Regions from separate parts of the Homo sapiens genome. Here region 2 is linked to region 1. The links are contacts of gene promoters, found by promoter capture Hi-C in human tissues and cell types (Jung and others, 2019). All regions are on one chromosome and are shown on one strand. Each heading gives the region's core, a stretch centred on a gene start or on the middle of the fragment in contact. The rest is flanking DNA. Distances are from core to core; before and after follow the strand shown.

The links. The method cuts DNA at HindIII sites, captures the fragments that hold promoters and counts their contacts. A contact is called where the count stands out against the background at its distance.
Region 2: a fragment that was not itself captured here is called in contact with the fragment with the promoter of ATRIP in region 1 in 1 of the 25 tissues and cell types used here (lymphoblastoid cells).

The regions. Positions count from the first base shown.
Region 1 is chr3:48,441,277-48,449,082 of GRCh38, reverse strand. It overlaps ATRIP (ATR interacting protein), which reads right to left and starts at 2,346. Exons shown (of 13, transcript NM_130384.3): 1 at 1,991-2,346. The coding sequence starts at 2,237. ATRIP-TREX1 (ATRIP-TREX1 readthrough) reads right to left here and starts at 2,304. Exons shown (of 15, transcript NR_153405.1): 1 at 1,991-2,304. TMA7 (translation machinery associated 7 homolog) reads right to left here. Exons shown (of 4, transcript NM_015933.6): 4 at 4,875-5,235. The coding sequence ends at 5,201. It also overlaps a transcript of CCDC51 not described here. RefSeq lists a silencer at 2,042-2,401. The HindIII fragment of the contact is 4,147 bases long and covers 2,148-6,294 here.
Region 2 is chr3:47,809,375-47,817,180 of GRCh38, reverse strand. DHX30 (DExH-box helicase 30) reads right to left here. Exons shown (of 22, transcript NM_138615.3): 3 at 6,470-6,524. The coding sequence starts at 6,497. Among named protein-coding and RNA genes, the nearest start is that of DHX30, 10 kb to the right of the region's middle. The HindIII fragment of the contact is 3,517 bases long and covers 1,062-4,578 here.

The sequences.
Region 1 (7,806 bases), core at 1,097-3,596:
CTATCCTTCATCCAATTCCAAGAGTCTCATCTAAAGCCTGAGGAGATCTCATTGGCCAGAACTCAATGATCTACTTATTATTCAGTAATAGTTACTGACCACATGCAATATGCCAGGCATGTTAGGCTCTACAGGTACAATAGTGAGCAAAATTGATACTTCCTTACACTCACAGAGCTTAAAAGACATTCAACAAATAATCACACAGATAAATGTAAAATTACAACTGTGATTAAGAACTGCAGAAGAGAACAAATATAGGAAAGCCTATAATATGACAGCAATCTGACTTAAGTGGGATGATTGGAACATTTCCCTAGGGAAGACTTGAAGGAGCTGAGAGCTGAAGGACAAGTAGGAATTAACCAGATGAGTGGAAATGAATGAATGAAAAGTATACTCAATGTACAAAGAAAGAACAATGTATAAAGTTCCTGTATTGTAAAGAAGCAGAGAGAATTCAAAGAATGTTAGTGCAGCCAGGACCCAGAGAGTGAGAAAGGGCCAAACCAGGCTGGGCCTTTCAGGCCATGTTAAGGATTCTGGTCTTCACACTAGAAGAAATAAGAAATTATTAAAGGGCTTTCATTAGGGGTGTTCATGGCTGGGTGCGGATGGCTCATACCTGTAATCTCAGCACTTTGGGAGACCAAGGCGGGTGGATCACCTGAGGTCAGCAGTTTGAGACCAGCCTGGCCAACATGGCGAAACCCCGTCTCTACTAAAAATACAAAAATTAGCCAGGCATGGTGGCGGGCACAAGTAATCCCAGCTACTTGGGAGGCTGAGGCTACTCGGGAGGTTGAGGCAAGAGAATCTCTTGAACCTGGGAGGTAGAGGCTGTGGTGAGCCAAGATGGCATCACTGCACTTCAGCCTGGGTGACAGAGTGAGACTCCGTCAAAAAAAAAAAAAAAAAAAAGGGTGTTCACGTATATCTGTGTAAGACACAGCCAGATTTGAGTTTTGAAAAGATCACTCAGAATGTGATGTGAAGCCTCACTTGTAGGGAGTCAAGACTGGAAATGGGAAACCAATTTAGCAGACCATTGTTCAAGAGAGGACTCATGGTAACACAGATCAGGCAGCTGGTAGAAGCAATGTGAATAGGATAGACTCCAGAGAAGGATTAAGAAGGTAAGCTTGACATGCTTTCCAAATAAATTAGATGTAGAGTCAAGGAAAGGGGAAGAGTCGCTTTGTGCCACTGGATGGAGAGTCGTGCTAGTTACTTCCTTGTGGAACATCTGGTCATCATTCTCTGAATGTCTGCTTTGCCGGCACCATGCTAGAAGTGCTGGAGGAGGACTGGGTTTCCAGGAAATGATCGTGTTGAGTTTAAGGTGCCTTGAGACACCCAAGTACAGATGCAAGGTGCACTCAAAACATTTCTCTTTCTGGGAGTCCTCAAGACTTCACTCACTCCTCAACTAGAATGTAAGCTCCATGAAGGACAGTTTTTGTATTTTGTTCATTGTAAGGTCAGCTGCAGTTCCTCACGTTTGGGCACCTAGCACAGTTTACTGGTTGTATAAAAGAATAAATTTATTTCATCTCTTGCCTGTGTCTGGCTCCTCCCATGCTCACACTGCCCAAGGGAGACAGTGGGCTTCATAAGATCTAAAGCCGCTCAAACTTGTCACAAGAATGGGTCCCCATGCATGGGTAGTGATGGTTCTGATGGTGGTGGTAGGTGTGTTCCAAGGATCTCTGCTTAGAACCAAGAACCAAGTGGCCTAAACTTTAGAAAATAACGTAAAATGTCAACTTAGCCTTCTGTGTTTCAAATCGGCTGTTTGACCTGGCTAATGCATTTCCCCCTAAAATCAAAGGACCTTCTGGAAGACAACCGCTGCTTAAATCAGGGTGTTCCCATATTTTAAAAAGGCGAAAAGGCAGTGCTGGCCGCGAGGTTCCGAAGCCACAGCCATCAAGGGGATCTGGCGCGGTTGACAACTCCCTCCGAGCAAAAGGCCGCGAGGAGCACTCACTGGACACGTCCCGAGCCGCGGCCGGACATTGGCTCAGGGCCTGTGACGCGAGGGTGTCAAGCTCCTCCAGGTCGTCGGCAGTGAAGTCCCCATGCGCGCCGAACGGGTCGTCAGGGTCCGGGGCAGCGGCTGCGGAGAAGCCCCGGGCCCGCTTGCTCGGGGGGTGCCCGGTGCCCGGCGGCGGGCCGGGGCGAGGCGCCGGGGGCTCGCTCCGCCTCTTGCTGCCTGGCGCGGAGGTCCCCGCCATGCTTTCCGCTCACCCCAAGTATCCGACAGCGCCGAGCTAGACTTGCCTGCCGCCAGGCCGGAGAACTGGACCAACCGTCCGCGCGCCGCCGCTTGCCTCCGCCGCGAGTGCCCCGCCCCTGGCCCAGGGGCCAATCAGCTGGCAGGCGGAGGGCGCGGAGGAATGACGAACGTCCGAGCGCGCCGCCACACCCGGCCCCGCCCGGTGTTTAGAGGTCCACGGGCGGGATTCGGCAGGTTTGCTGCAAGGACTCAGTGCGGCGCGACCCGTTACCGGAGAGGCGGGCCGGAGGCGCACCAGCTCCGCCGCGCTGGTGGCTTTGCGCTCCCTCCCTGGCATTCCGTGGAGGAGGGCCGCGCAGGAGCAGCCTGCCCTAGCATTCACGCGTGTTGCGTTTGAGTCGAGCCAGGCATCATTCAGGGATGTGGTCTCCGTGACCTCGCTTTCCTTCTGCCGCCAGACCCACCTCCCACAAACCCCTAGGCTTTCTTGAGGAGAGTGGAATTTGTTGGGTGAGGAGTATGAATAGAGCTGTCGTGTGCAGACATCTTCGGGTTTAGTGAATGTTTCACATGTGTACATTTGAGGTAGGCCCAGGGAGGAGGAAAGTCCAAGGAGGAATGATGTTTGGAGCTGTTCTTGTGTGGGAGGGGGTGGGAGCTGCTCAGGCTGTTAACATCCATTCCTCTGAGTGCTGGACTGTTTTTTTTTCCTAAGCTCTGGTTGTATAGAATAGGGCTCAGGAGGTCAAGGAAGTCCCCCTGTAAATGGCACCTGCGCTGTCCTACAAGTTGAGTCAAGTTAGCAGGATAGAGGGGTAGGAGGCTGGCACATAAGACTAACACGAGAATTCTACATTGAAAGGGAGGCCACACAAAGGCCAGGTAAGAGTTACCGGTGGCGAACAGAGGTAAAGCTTCACAAAGGAGCAGCAATTTGAGGTGGGCTTGCGTGCCTGACAGATTTTATTGGGCAGCTGTGGTGTGCAGAAGTTAGCCGCAATAGAGAATTTGGCAATGGAGAGTAACAGGAGCAAGACTCTTTCAGCCTTACCTGCTCAGTGCCAAACTTCACCTGTGAGTGTCCTAGGAATATTTGTGAAAGCATTAAATGAAAAGAGTAAATGAAAAAGAGAGTGCTATCAGGGCCTATAATGTCTAAGGAGTTTAAAATTTTTTGGAGCAACTGGTAGTCTCCGTCAGATAGCTTCCCAAGTGTTGCATGCTTAATTGCTGCAGGACTCTGGTCCTGGAAAGAGACAGGACTGTTCATTTGTTAAAGAGGGATAGGTTCCACCAAGTAACTTGCTTTCAGGAACAGTGTGAATCACTGGTGCTCAGGTTTGTTTTAGCAGCATACGGCTGGGTGCCAGCTAGCAAGGCCCCACAGGGAATGCCTGAAGCCTACTGAAGGGTGCTACTGGCTGTGCAACTTTCTGGAGAGGACCAACACAGGCTTCCCCCTGCCCCCTCTCCCGCGTTAATATCTAGTACATTAATCATGAAAGTTTTCAATATTCTAAAACCTAGTTTTGATTTAGCAGTCTCATAATGGTTCCAGAGCGCTCTTCGACAATATTCTCAGAGAAAGCTGAGCATTATTAACATAATTGTATTAAGGGCCTGGGAGGGAAATCCAAATACTTGTGCTTCTGAATTAATTTTTTTTTTTTAAATACAGGGTCTTGTTCTGTCTCCCAGGCTGGAGTGCAGTGGTGTGATCTTGGCTCACTGCAGCCTCGAACTCCTGGGCTCAAGTGATCCTCCCACCTCAGCCTCCCAAATGGCTGGGACTACAGAAGTGCACCACCACACCCAGCTAAGCATTTTAAAACATATTCAGCACACATTATGGATGGTCTCTGTCTTTGCATTTATTGAGGGGCAAGCGGTAGGTATGCCTGGGACTCCAGTCCTGGGCAGCAGGAGGTAGAGTGAGCCCCCATTTTGCCTCACCCCCAACCCCTTGCCTGGCACTGGCACCCCCTCCATCCACCAGCAAGTGGGCTGGGGCTTCCCGCAGCTGCTGCCCTGGACCTGTTTGGTGCGCATGGGGACTTCACTGCTAGCAACTTGAAGGATCATGTAATTTGCCCTGCCCTGCCTCTTCCACAGTAGAGAAGTTCCTTGACAACAGGAACTGTTCCGTTACATACCCCAGTGCCTGCATATAGCAGACGCCTTACATGAACAGATGAACAAGTCTCATCAAAATATACGGCAATTTGGATGTGACAACATAAAGATGGGTTTTCTTTTAAAAGCACAAATTCTGGTCAGGCACAGTGGCTCATGCCTGTAATCCCAGCACTTTGGGAGGCTGAAGCAGGCAGATCACTTGAGGTCAGGAGTTTGAGACCAGCCTGGCCAACATGGTGAAACCCCTCTCTACTAAAAATACAAAAAATTAGCTAGGCATGGTGGCGGGTGCCTGTAACCACAGCTACTTGGGAGGCCAAAGCAGGAGAATAGTTTGAACCCGGGAGGTGGAGGTTGCATTGAGCAGAGATCATGCCACTGCACTCCAGCCTGGGTGAGAGTGAGACTCCACCCCCTCCCCCACCAAAAAAAAGTGCAAATTCTTCCACTAAACTCATGTAAGGTATTCTGTCAGGTATACAACCACACAAGAACGCCATCCTTTCAAATGAGTTGGTTTAATTTCAGGTGATACAAAGTTTAGGGTAGAACAAGGACCAAAGAACAGACTCTGGCAAGATTCTGAGCTGGTTTTACTTTAAATTCACAGTTATGGTAGGAACGACTTAGTGAAAACAACTAAAGAGATGATGAGCCACTGTAAGATTTTTCTTTTTTTACAAAAGTTTATTCTTAAATGTACAACAGCTCCAAGACAACACTTAATTCCAGCTATACGTGGCAAAAGATGTTATGGCAGGGAATAGAGAGGTTTAAATACAGATGAAATAAAGGGTCACCATCTCCTCAGGCACAAGGAACAGCTTACTTTTTGCCAGATTTCTTAATTCCACCTGTGGCTGCAAAAGAAAAATAGTCACAATTAGGGAAAAATATAGTTCTTACGGTAGAAGCCCCACGGGCCTGCTGTGGACCTTAGTAAAGCCTGGCTTTTGTATTGGGCATTCACTTTAACACAAGCATGGATAGCAGCTTCACTGATACTGTCTGTTCTAGGTAAAGGTAAAATGAGGATGAGATGGAGTACAAGCAGTGGCTGGCTGTGCACTGGTCTAGATCTACACTTCTGTATACTTCACAGATTGGCTTATTTAATCCTCATGCCATATCAACCCATTTTACAGAAAAAGAAGTCCTTTTTTTTTTTTTTTCTGAGATGGAATCTTGCTCTGTCGCCCAGGCTGCAGTGCAGTGGCACGATCTCAGCTCACTGCAACCTCTGCCTCCCAGGTTGAAGCAATTCTCCTGTCTCAGCCTTCCGAGCAGCTGGGACCACAAGCCCTGGCTAATTTTTGTATTTTTAGTGGAGACGGGGCTCACCATATTGGTCAGGCTGGTCTCGAACTCCTGACCTCAGGTGATCTGCCTGCCTCAGATTCCCAAAATGATGGGATTACAGGTGTGAGCCACCGACCCCAGCATTTTTTTTTTTTTTTTTTTTTTTTGGAGATGGAGTCTTGCTTTGTCACCTAGGCTGGACTGCGGTGGTGCAATTTTGGCTCACTGCAGCCTCCGCCTCCCAGGTTCAAGTGATTCTTCATGCATGAGCCTTCCGAGTAGCTGGGACTAAAGGCGCATGCCACCATACCCGGCTAATTTTTGTATTTTTAGTAGAGATGGGGTTTGACCATGTTGGCCAGGCAGGTCTCGAACTCCAGACCTCAAGTGGTCCACCCACCTCAGCCTCCCAAAGTGCTGGGATTACAGTCTTGAGCCACCATGCCCAGCCAAAAAAGAAGTCTTATTGTTAGGTGTTGTTCAAGTATGTGACAAGCCAGGATCCCAACCTGAGTCATCTGACTTCAAAGTCCACATTCTTAACTGCCATGTTACACTACCTTCCATATTATGATCCTGGCACCTGGTATACTCTGTCAATTTACAAATGACCATATATGTGGAACGCAGTAGGCGATTTAAGAAACAGCATAGGATTGGGCCAGGCGCGGTGGCTCACGCCTGTAATCCCAGCACTTTGGGAGGTGGAGGCGGGTGGATCACGAGGTCAGGAGATCGAGACCATCCTGGCCAACATGGTGAAACCCCGTCTCTACTAAAAATACAAAAATTAGCCGGGCATGGTGGTGTGCGCCTGTAATCCCAGCTACTCAGGAGGCTGAGGCAGGAGAATCACTTGAACCTGGGAGGCGGAGGCTGCAGTGAGCTGAGATCATGCCACTGCACTCCAGCCTGGGCGACAGAGTGAGACTATTTAAAAAAAAAAAAAAAAAAAAGTGTAGGGTTACATATGCCTAATACAGGAAAGAAGATCCAAAGGGGCCTGACAAAATAAACCTTAAAATAAAAATCAGATGATGCTCAATGAGAAACAACTAGCATAGAGTTACACTAAAGACTGTTCTTTCCCCTATACACAATCACAGATTAAAAGAGGGTGCAAGATACCTTTTTTTTTTTTTTTTTTTGAGATAGGGTCTCATTCTATCTCCCAGGCTGGAATACAGTGGCGCAATCCCAGCTCACTACAGCCTGAACTCCCGTGCTCAAATAATCCTCTTACCTTGAACTCCTGGGCTTAAGCGAGGCTGCCTCAGCCTTTTAAATAGCTGGGATTACAGGAAACGGGCCGCCACCACCACCACGCCCAGCTAATTTTAAATTTTTTCTGTAGACAGGGTCTCCCTTTGATGCTGTGAACTCCTAGCCTTAAATAATCCTCCTGCTTAGGCCTCCCAAAGCACTTGGATTATGGTCAGCCCATTCTGTGCCTGGCCCCTTACACCATTCTGAAAAGGAATCTCAAGAGCTAGAAATCTCAGTGCTGGGTAGGTAAACAATAATGGATCAAACCCACTGGGAGAGAGGTCTTGGGAAGCCCTAGATGACACTCCCACCATCCTTGTCTCCATCATGCCTAGCATGGCTCACAGTGCTCAAATGGGGGCATAAACAACTGTGGAGGAAATAATCACTAGTTGGATCAATGTAAAATAATGCTTATGATGCACATAAAGTACTAGAACTGCTGGGCCTGAAAAATATTTTGAAATGTAATGAATTTCTCCTACATAAAAGATGTAAAAAAGGTGGAGGATTCAGTTAGAAAAGCATATGGAGCAACAGCACACTGAAGAGCCTGGACTTTATCTTTTAGTCTAGGCATACCCAGAAGTAAAAAGACTCAGAAAGCAAAAAAGCATATATTAGAGATAATATAAGCAGTACGAAAAAAAAAAAAAAGTTGGCCAGGTGCTGTGGCTCACGCTTGTAATCCGAGCACTCTGGGAGGCAGAGGCGGGTGAATCACTTGAAGTCAGGAGTTCGAGACCAGCTTGGCCAACATGGTGAAACTCCGTCTCTACTATAAATACAAAAAAAAACTGGCCAGGTGCGGTGGCTCACGCCTGCAATCCCAGCACTTTGGGAGGCTGAGGCGGGTGGATCACGAG
Region 2 (7,806 bases), core at 1,571-4,070, 630 kb after region 1:
CTCTGGTTTCAGTACAGTAAATGGGGTAGAAGGGGAGCAGAGATGGCCACACACACCTGAAGCTTGAGAAACCACCTGTTCTACAAAGATGTTCATTTGTGGAATGCAAATTGACTCATATACAATTGGTAAAGAGGAGAAAGATATCAGTAAAACAAGACTCTTGTTTCAAAAAATTCTGAAAGCAAAGGAGCTGAAAAAGCAGGAGTAGAATTATAATCTTCAGCAGGAAAGAAAAAGCCCTTTCAGCTATTTTTTTTTTTATTAAAATTGAGTGCCTATACCTATAGAGAATCAAGGTGGTAGATACAAAGGTGTTCACTATACAATTTCTTCAATGTTTCAGTATTTTTGAAATTTTTCACAACAAAATGTTAGGGGAGAAGCAAGTCCTGCACTCCAACCCTCCTCCCCCACAGTCCCAGCTGCACACACTCCTTCACCACAGTGGCTGTTTCAGAACTCCACCTCCACCTGGGCTTCCTCGGTAACTGCCAGCTCTGCTCACATTAGAAGGCTCTTTGTAGCCCGGCGCGGTGGCTCACGCCTATAATCCCAGCACTTTGGGAGGCTGAGGCCAGCGGATCACAAGGTCAAGAGATCGAGACCATCCTGGCCAACATGGTGAAACCCCGTCTCTACTAAAAATACAAAAATTGGCAGGGCATGGTGGCGTGTGCCTGTAGTCCCAGCTACTCAGGAGGCTGAGGCACGAGAATGACTTGAACCCGGGAGGCGGAGGATGCAGTGAGCCGAGATCGCGCCATTGCACTCCAGCCTGGCCACAGAACAAGACTCCGTCTTAAAAAAAAAAAAAAAAAAAAGAAGACGGCTCTTTGTACATTTGCAGCATCACATCACCCTGAGCTGCCTGTCTAGGTAGTCCAAAGCATCTTCCCAAGCACCAATAATTGTTTTTTGTCATATTTTGGTCAAAAAGTTGCAGTTGCATTGGCCCAATTCTATTTTTCCCATAAGCTCTCTTATAATATTATAGATGTGTGATTTTTTTCTTTTTATTTTATAGGTATGTGATTTTACAGAAAACATACATAGAGTTACAGCAGACGTGCTTGTAGGATCTTCTAGAACTAAATGCCTAGGATCAAGGTTTATTTTGAAACTAATTCCAGTTCTGCCTTGAAGCTAAGGTTGGAAATGACCAGCTCAACCTCTCCATTCCTGTTTAAGGAGGGTCCTCATTCACATCCAGGGATGCTGGATTGAAAAAAAAAAAAAAAGAATAAATGATTCAATGATTAGTTATTATCTCATTAAGCATTTTCAGCAATTGGGAGAGAGTTGTTACAATCCCATAACTTCACTGAGCCCACTTCTGACCATGTACCTGGAGAGAAAATGCACATTCTTGCTATTGATCCAGTGTTTTTCAAAGTTTTGTGCTGGCTGTGAAAGACTCAGCTTGCTCTTTTTTTTTTTTTTTTTTTTTTTTTTTTGCTCTTTTTTATTGTTCAGCTTGCTCTTTGTAGCCTGAGTCCGATGGCATTACAGGTAAGAAATCAGACAGCTAAGTTAAGATGCTCGCAAGGGCAGTAACAAGTAACTTACCAGGAACATGGGCATTCTTACCAACAGCTTTGTTAAATTACATAATGAGAAAGATGGTAGCTAGCCACAAGACCCAGTGGGCCACCATCCACAATGCTGCATGGAATTGCTATAGCTGTTTCCATCAGAACCATCAAATGGCCCATCCTATTGAGGCTATAAGCTCCAGAGTACCAAGAAGCATCTCTGAAACAGAGCTCTCTTCACCCTAGTGTCTCCTACACAGCAGGTGCTCAATCATGCAACCTCACAGCACACTGCATGCTGAGGCAAGGCTATAGCTCTCCAGTATTTATCAAGGGCATACCATGCCCAAGAGTAAGGGTTGAGCACCGACCATAGCCAGGTGCTTTTCCTATATTTCAGCTCTAATATCTTCACTGTAGTCCTGAAGATAGCAGGTAGGAAACAAGATCAGGTAAGTTAACACCTTGCTAGTATTAGGGAAAGCCAGATTCAAGCCCCAGTCAATGAAACTCGGGAACCTCAAGCTTCACATCAACTTACATTTCCTCTCAAGGTTCATGACACCCTAGGAACTCATAATTTGATGATGAAGAGCAAAGAAACATGTAAAAGGAAAACTCAAGCCAAGCACAGTGGCTCACACCTGTAGTCCCAACACTTTGGGAGGCCAAGGCAGGAGGATTACATGAAGCCAGGAGTTTGAGAACAGCCTGGGAAACATAGGAAGACCCTGTTTCCACCAAAAAAAAAAAAATTATTTTTTTAATTATTTTATTTCTTAAAAAAATACAGAACAAAACAAAACAAAACTAACTAACAAAAAACGGCCGGGCGTGGTGGTTCACACCTGTAATCCCAACACTTTAGGAGGCCAAGGCGGGTGGATCATGAGGTCAGGAGACTGAGGCCATCCTGGCTAACATGGTGAAACCCCATCTCCACTAAAAATACAAAAAATTAGCCAGGCGTGGTGGCTGGCGCCTGTAGTCCCAGCTACTCGGGAGGCTGAGGCAGAAAAATGGCATGAATCTGGGAGGTGGAGCTTGCTAAAAATACAGAGAGACAGGGTCTCCCAATGCTGTCCAGGCTGCTCTCAAACTCCTGGCTCAAACAATCTTTTTGTCTTAGCCTCCCAAAGTGCTGGGATTACAAGCATGAGACACGGCGCTCAGACAGGAAAAAAAAATTTTTTTTTCTTTTTTTTTTTTTTTTTTTGTTTTGAGACAGAGTCTCGCTCTGTCACCCAGGCTAGAGTGCAGTGGTGTGATCTCAGCTCACTGCCACCTCTGCCTCCTGGGTTCAAGCGATTTGCTGCCTCAGCCTCCCAAGTAGCTGGGATTACCATGCCCGGCTGATTTTTATTTTTATTTTTATTTTTTTTTAGTAGAGACGGGGTTTCACCATGTTGGCCAGGCTGGTCTCGAACTCCTGATGTCAAGTAGTCCACCCACCTTAGCCTCCCAAAGTGCTGGGATTACAGGCCTGAGCCACCGCGCTCAGCTGAGGATCGTGATTTTTATTGGGCTTTCCATCTCTTTACAAAATCAGTACTATTAATTCAGAGACACTCACCATGAGAAAACCTGCTTTCATCGACCTTTTACAAGTGGGTAGACAATAAAGCCCACTGGTTAGTAAGTAAACACAAAGTGCTAATTTTAGCTAAAAAAAAAAAATGTGCTGCCCACACTAATCTCAAGTTCAGTTTTTTCCTTCTTACATACAGCTGGCCAAAAAAAAAAAAAAAAAAAAAGCCCAGGATGACAGAAATAAATTTTTTCAAACAATATGAAAACAGATGGAGTGGCTGGAGATACACAAGGAGGCAGGGACATGCTGCTCTCTGAGCCCTAGTACGTCCAGCCCTCCTTCTGGCCCCATTCAATGGGTTACACAGGGCACCACTTGGCCAGGGGTTTCCCAGGCCTCGAGGAACACAACTTAGAGAGAGAGAAGACACAATCAGGAAGACCTATTTAATCAGCAGTTATAGACGTTCTGTTATGGTTCTTATTTATTTGTAAAATATCCTCAGACAGAAGCCTCAGAATCAGCTTCAACACGGGCTACAGGCCCTTTACTCTTCAGTCTCTTGAAGAAAAAAAGTCATGTTCTAAGAAATACAAAGCTCTCAGGATCTGGCCCCTAAAGTCCCCACAGGCTACTTTACCTCCTATAAACACATTGTGAACTCTACCCTATAGCCCTGTCAAGGCTCAATTCTGCCATTGCCTATGCAACCCCCTCACTCAGTGTGCTGTAGAGCACTAATTTCAAGACTTGCCAGAATTTCTTTTTGTTTTTTGAGATGGAGTCTCGCTGTTTCGCCCAGGCCAGACAGTGGCGCGATCTCGGCTCACTGCAAGCTCCGCCCCCTGGGTTCACACCATTCTCCTGCCTCAGCCTCCCGAGTAGCTGGGACTATAGGCACCCACCACCGCACCCGGCTAATTTTTTATTTTGTATTTTTAGTAGAGACGGGGTTTCACCATATTGGCCAGGATGGTCTCAATCTCCTGACCTCGTGATCCGCCTGCCTCGGCCTCCCAAAGTGCTGGGATTACAGGCGTGAGCCACCGCGCCCGGCAAGACTTGCCAGAGTTTCTATGATCACTAACGAAAGAATGACTTTGATATAGTGTGGATATTTGTCCCTACCCAAATCTCATGTTGAAATGTAATCTCCTGCTGGTGGCTCACGCCTGTAATCCCAACACTTTGGGAGGCCGAGATGGGCGAAATCACTTGAGCTCAGGAGTTACAGACCAGCCTGGCCAATATGGCGAAATCCCATCTCTACTAAAAATACAAGAATTACCCGGGTGTGGTGGCACACGCCTGTAGTCCCAGCTACTCGGGAGGCTGAGGCAGGAGAATTGCTTGAACCCGGGAGGCAGAGGTTGCAGTGAGCCAAGCTCGTGCCACTGCACTCCAGCCTGGGCAACAACAGAGTGAGACTCCGTCTCAAAAAAAAAAAAAAAGGAAATGTAATCTCTGCTGTTGAAGGGTCACAGAATGGATCCCTCATGGCTTGCTACTATCCTTGTGATAGTGAGTAAATTCTCATGAAATCTTTTTTTTTTTTTTGAGATGGATTCTTGCCCTGTCGCCCAGGCTGGAGTGCAGTGGCACAATCTTGACTCACTACAACCTGCACCTCCTGGGTTCAAGCAATTCTCGTGCCTTAGCCTCCCAAGTAGCTGGGAATACAGGTGCACACCACCACGCCTAGCTAATTTTCTGTATTTTTAGTAGAGACGGGTCTCATCATGTTGGCCAGGCTGGTCTCAAATGCCTGACCTCAAGTGATCCGCCCACTTTGGCCTCCCAAAGTGCTGGGATTACAGGTGTGAGCCACTGCGCCCAGCCTCTCATGAGATCCTGTTGTTTATTTTATTTATTTATTTATTTATTTTTGAGATGGCATCTCACTCTTGTTGCCCAGGCTGGAGTGCAATGGCACGATCTCAGCTCACTGCAACCCGTCTCCCAGGTTCAAGCGATTCTCCTGCCTCAGCCTCCCAAGTAGCTGGGATTACAGGTGCCCACCACCACACATGGCCTTTTTTTTTTTTTTTTTTGAGACTGAGTCTTGCTCTGTTGCCCAGGCTGGAGTGCAGTGGTGTAATCTCGGCTCACTGCAACCTCTGCCTCCCGGGTTAAAGCTATTCTCCTGCCTCAGCCTCCCAAGTAGCTGGGACTATAGGCGCAGACTGCCACGCCTGGATAATTTTTTGTATTTTAGTAGAGATGGGGTTTCACTGTGTTGTCCAGGCTGGTCTGGAACTCCTGAGCTCAGGCAATCCGTCCACCTTGGCCTCCCAAAGTGCTGGGATTACAGGCGTGAGCCATCATGCCCAGCCAATCTTGTTTAAATTGTGTGGCACCTCCCCAACTCTCTCTCTCTGGATCCTGATTTTTGCCACGTGACACGCCTGCTCCCGCTTCACCTTCTGCCCCTGAGTGAAAGCTCCCTGAGTCCTCCCCAGAAGCCAAACAGATGCCAGCACCATGTTTCCTATACACCCTGCAGAAATGTGAGCCAATTAAACCTCTTTTCTTATAAATTACCCAGTCTCAGGTATTTTTTTATACCAATGCAAGAACAGCCTAATACAGACTCAATCCAACTTCCACCAGTGTTTACTGAGGCCTACTATGTGCGAAATGCTGGCCAGGTGCTATGCATCGTAAAAGCACACAACAGGCCCTGGCTACAGGGAGCTTCCAATCTAGTGACAAAATGATTAATTCAGAATAGACTAACCATGAGAACGAACAGGTATGGTACCGAGGAAGATTGGAGAAAGATTGCATTTGGTCAACAGAATTAGGAAAGGTTCATGAAGGAGATGGTATAAAATACTAGCCTAGAAAAATAGGATTTTAGAGGCCAGCCACGGTGGCTCACACCTGTAATCCCAGCACTTTGGGAGGCCGAGGTGGGTGGATCACTTGAGGTCAACAGTTTGAGACCAGCCTGGCCAACATGGTGAAACCCCGTCTCAACTAAAAAAAAAAAAAAGAATTAGCCGAGCTTGGCAGCTGGTTCCTGTAATCCCAGCTACTACGGAGGCTGAGGCAGGAGAATTGCTTCAACCCAGGAGGAGGAGATTGCACTGAGCCGAGATCGTGCCACTGCACTCCAGCCTGGGCGACAGAAGTGAGGCTCCATCTCAGAAAAAAAAAAAAGGATTTTAATAAGCAGGGAGTACGCAGAAGGGGGCACTGGGAGGAAGCATGGCAAAGGCCATGGCAAGGGTTGGCACAGATTCTAAGCACCATGCAAAAGGAAGGCTATAGGAAAGGCCTTTGGAAAACCACCCAAAGAAATGTGCAAGAACTACATACTGGGGAGAGACTTTCACAGCCCTCAGAGCTGCCCATCCCAATAAGGAAGGGCATGAGGTCACAAGCACAGTTGCAGTCTTACCTTTTCTGAATGAGTCCAGGCTGAACATTTCTGGCCAGGAGGGAAAGCTGGAATCCTGAGAACAAGGAGGGCCAAGAGGCAATGGTTAATATTCCTGGTCCAGCAACCCACAAAGAAGACTTCAGTAACATGGAGAGCACTGTTCAGAAAATGAAAAAAATGAAACTCTTCACTAATGAGCCCCAACTGCTGCTCCCCAGTCTTGAGGACTGGAAGGCCAGCTCCACTCTAGAGTAATTGTCTTTGCTTCTTTCTAATTGAGCACTTTCTTCCCTGTCCTAAAACTCCCCATATCCTGTTAAACAGAGGGAGATGCATTTCATCATGAGAGACATGTAGTTCTATCTAGTTCATCATAATACTTACAGGTTTCCTTCCCAGTTCATCATAATACTTGCAGGTTTCCTTCCTAGTTATCATAATACTTGCAGGTTTCCTTGGGACTTCCAGGAAGAAACGAAATTCTACATGGACCCCTTCTGTCATGTGGCATCAGGAAACAGGACTGATGACTGCCTTATGGGCAAACTGCCTTACTGGGCTTTCATAAAACCTAGTCAAGACCCTAAAAATGAGATTTGACTGACAGGATCAAAGAATAACTGTACAGTGATTCAGAATAAAAAGCTTTTCATAGCAGTCTCTATGAAATAACAAATATTAAGTTAAAGCACAACTATTAGCCAAAAGTTTTGGTGCATTTTGCTTATTAGTATATTTAACTGAGGACTATACTTAGAGATGACAAGAAAAAAAAGCAACACATCTGGTTTAACAATTTTGTTTTAAAAAATACTCAAACTCAGATTTATAGATGTTTTTATAATCCAGTACTCCTTGATTAGTGCAGTAACCTTAAATGGACTTTGTTTAAAAACATCTACACAGTGTTTAGCCAATCAGAATCATGTCCAACATTGATTGGAGTCTACTGGGGCCAACACTCCGGCTCCTGACTCCTGTTCCCTCTCATTCTCAAATTGTGGGGAGGTGGGGAGTGGAGGGCTGACCTGGGGCGGAATCTTTCAGGTCCATAGCAGGTCTGCCCTGATGGCCTCCACTCCCCAAGGGATGCTGGAAATTTCAGCCCATAGGATATGGTATATCACAGAGAAAACTTCAATACAATATCAACAATGATAACATTTACTTTAAGAAGTTACATTCCGGCCAGGCGCGGTGGCTCACGCCTGTAATCCCAGCACTTTGGGAGGCCGAGGTGGGCGGATCACGAGGTCAGGAGATCGAGACCATCCTTGCTAACACGGTGAAACCCCGTCTCTACTAAAAAAATACAAAAAAATGAGCCAGGCATGGTTGTGCGGGCCTGTAGTCCC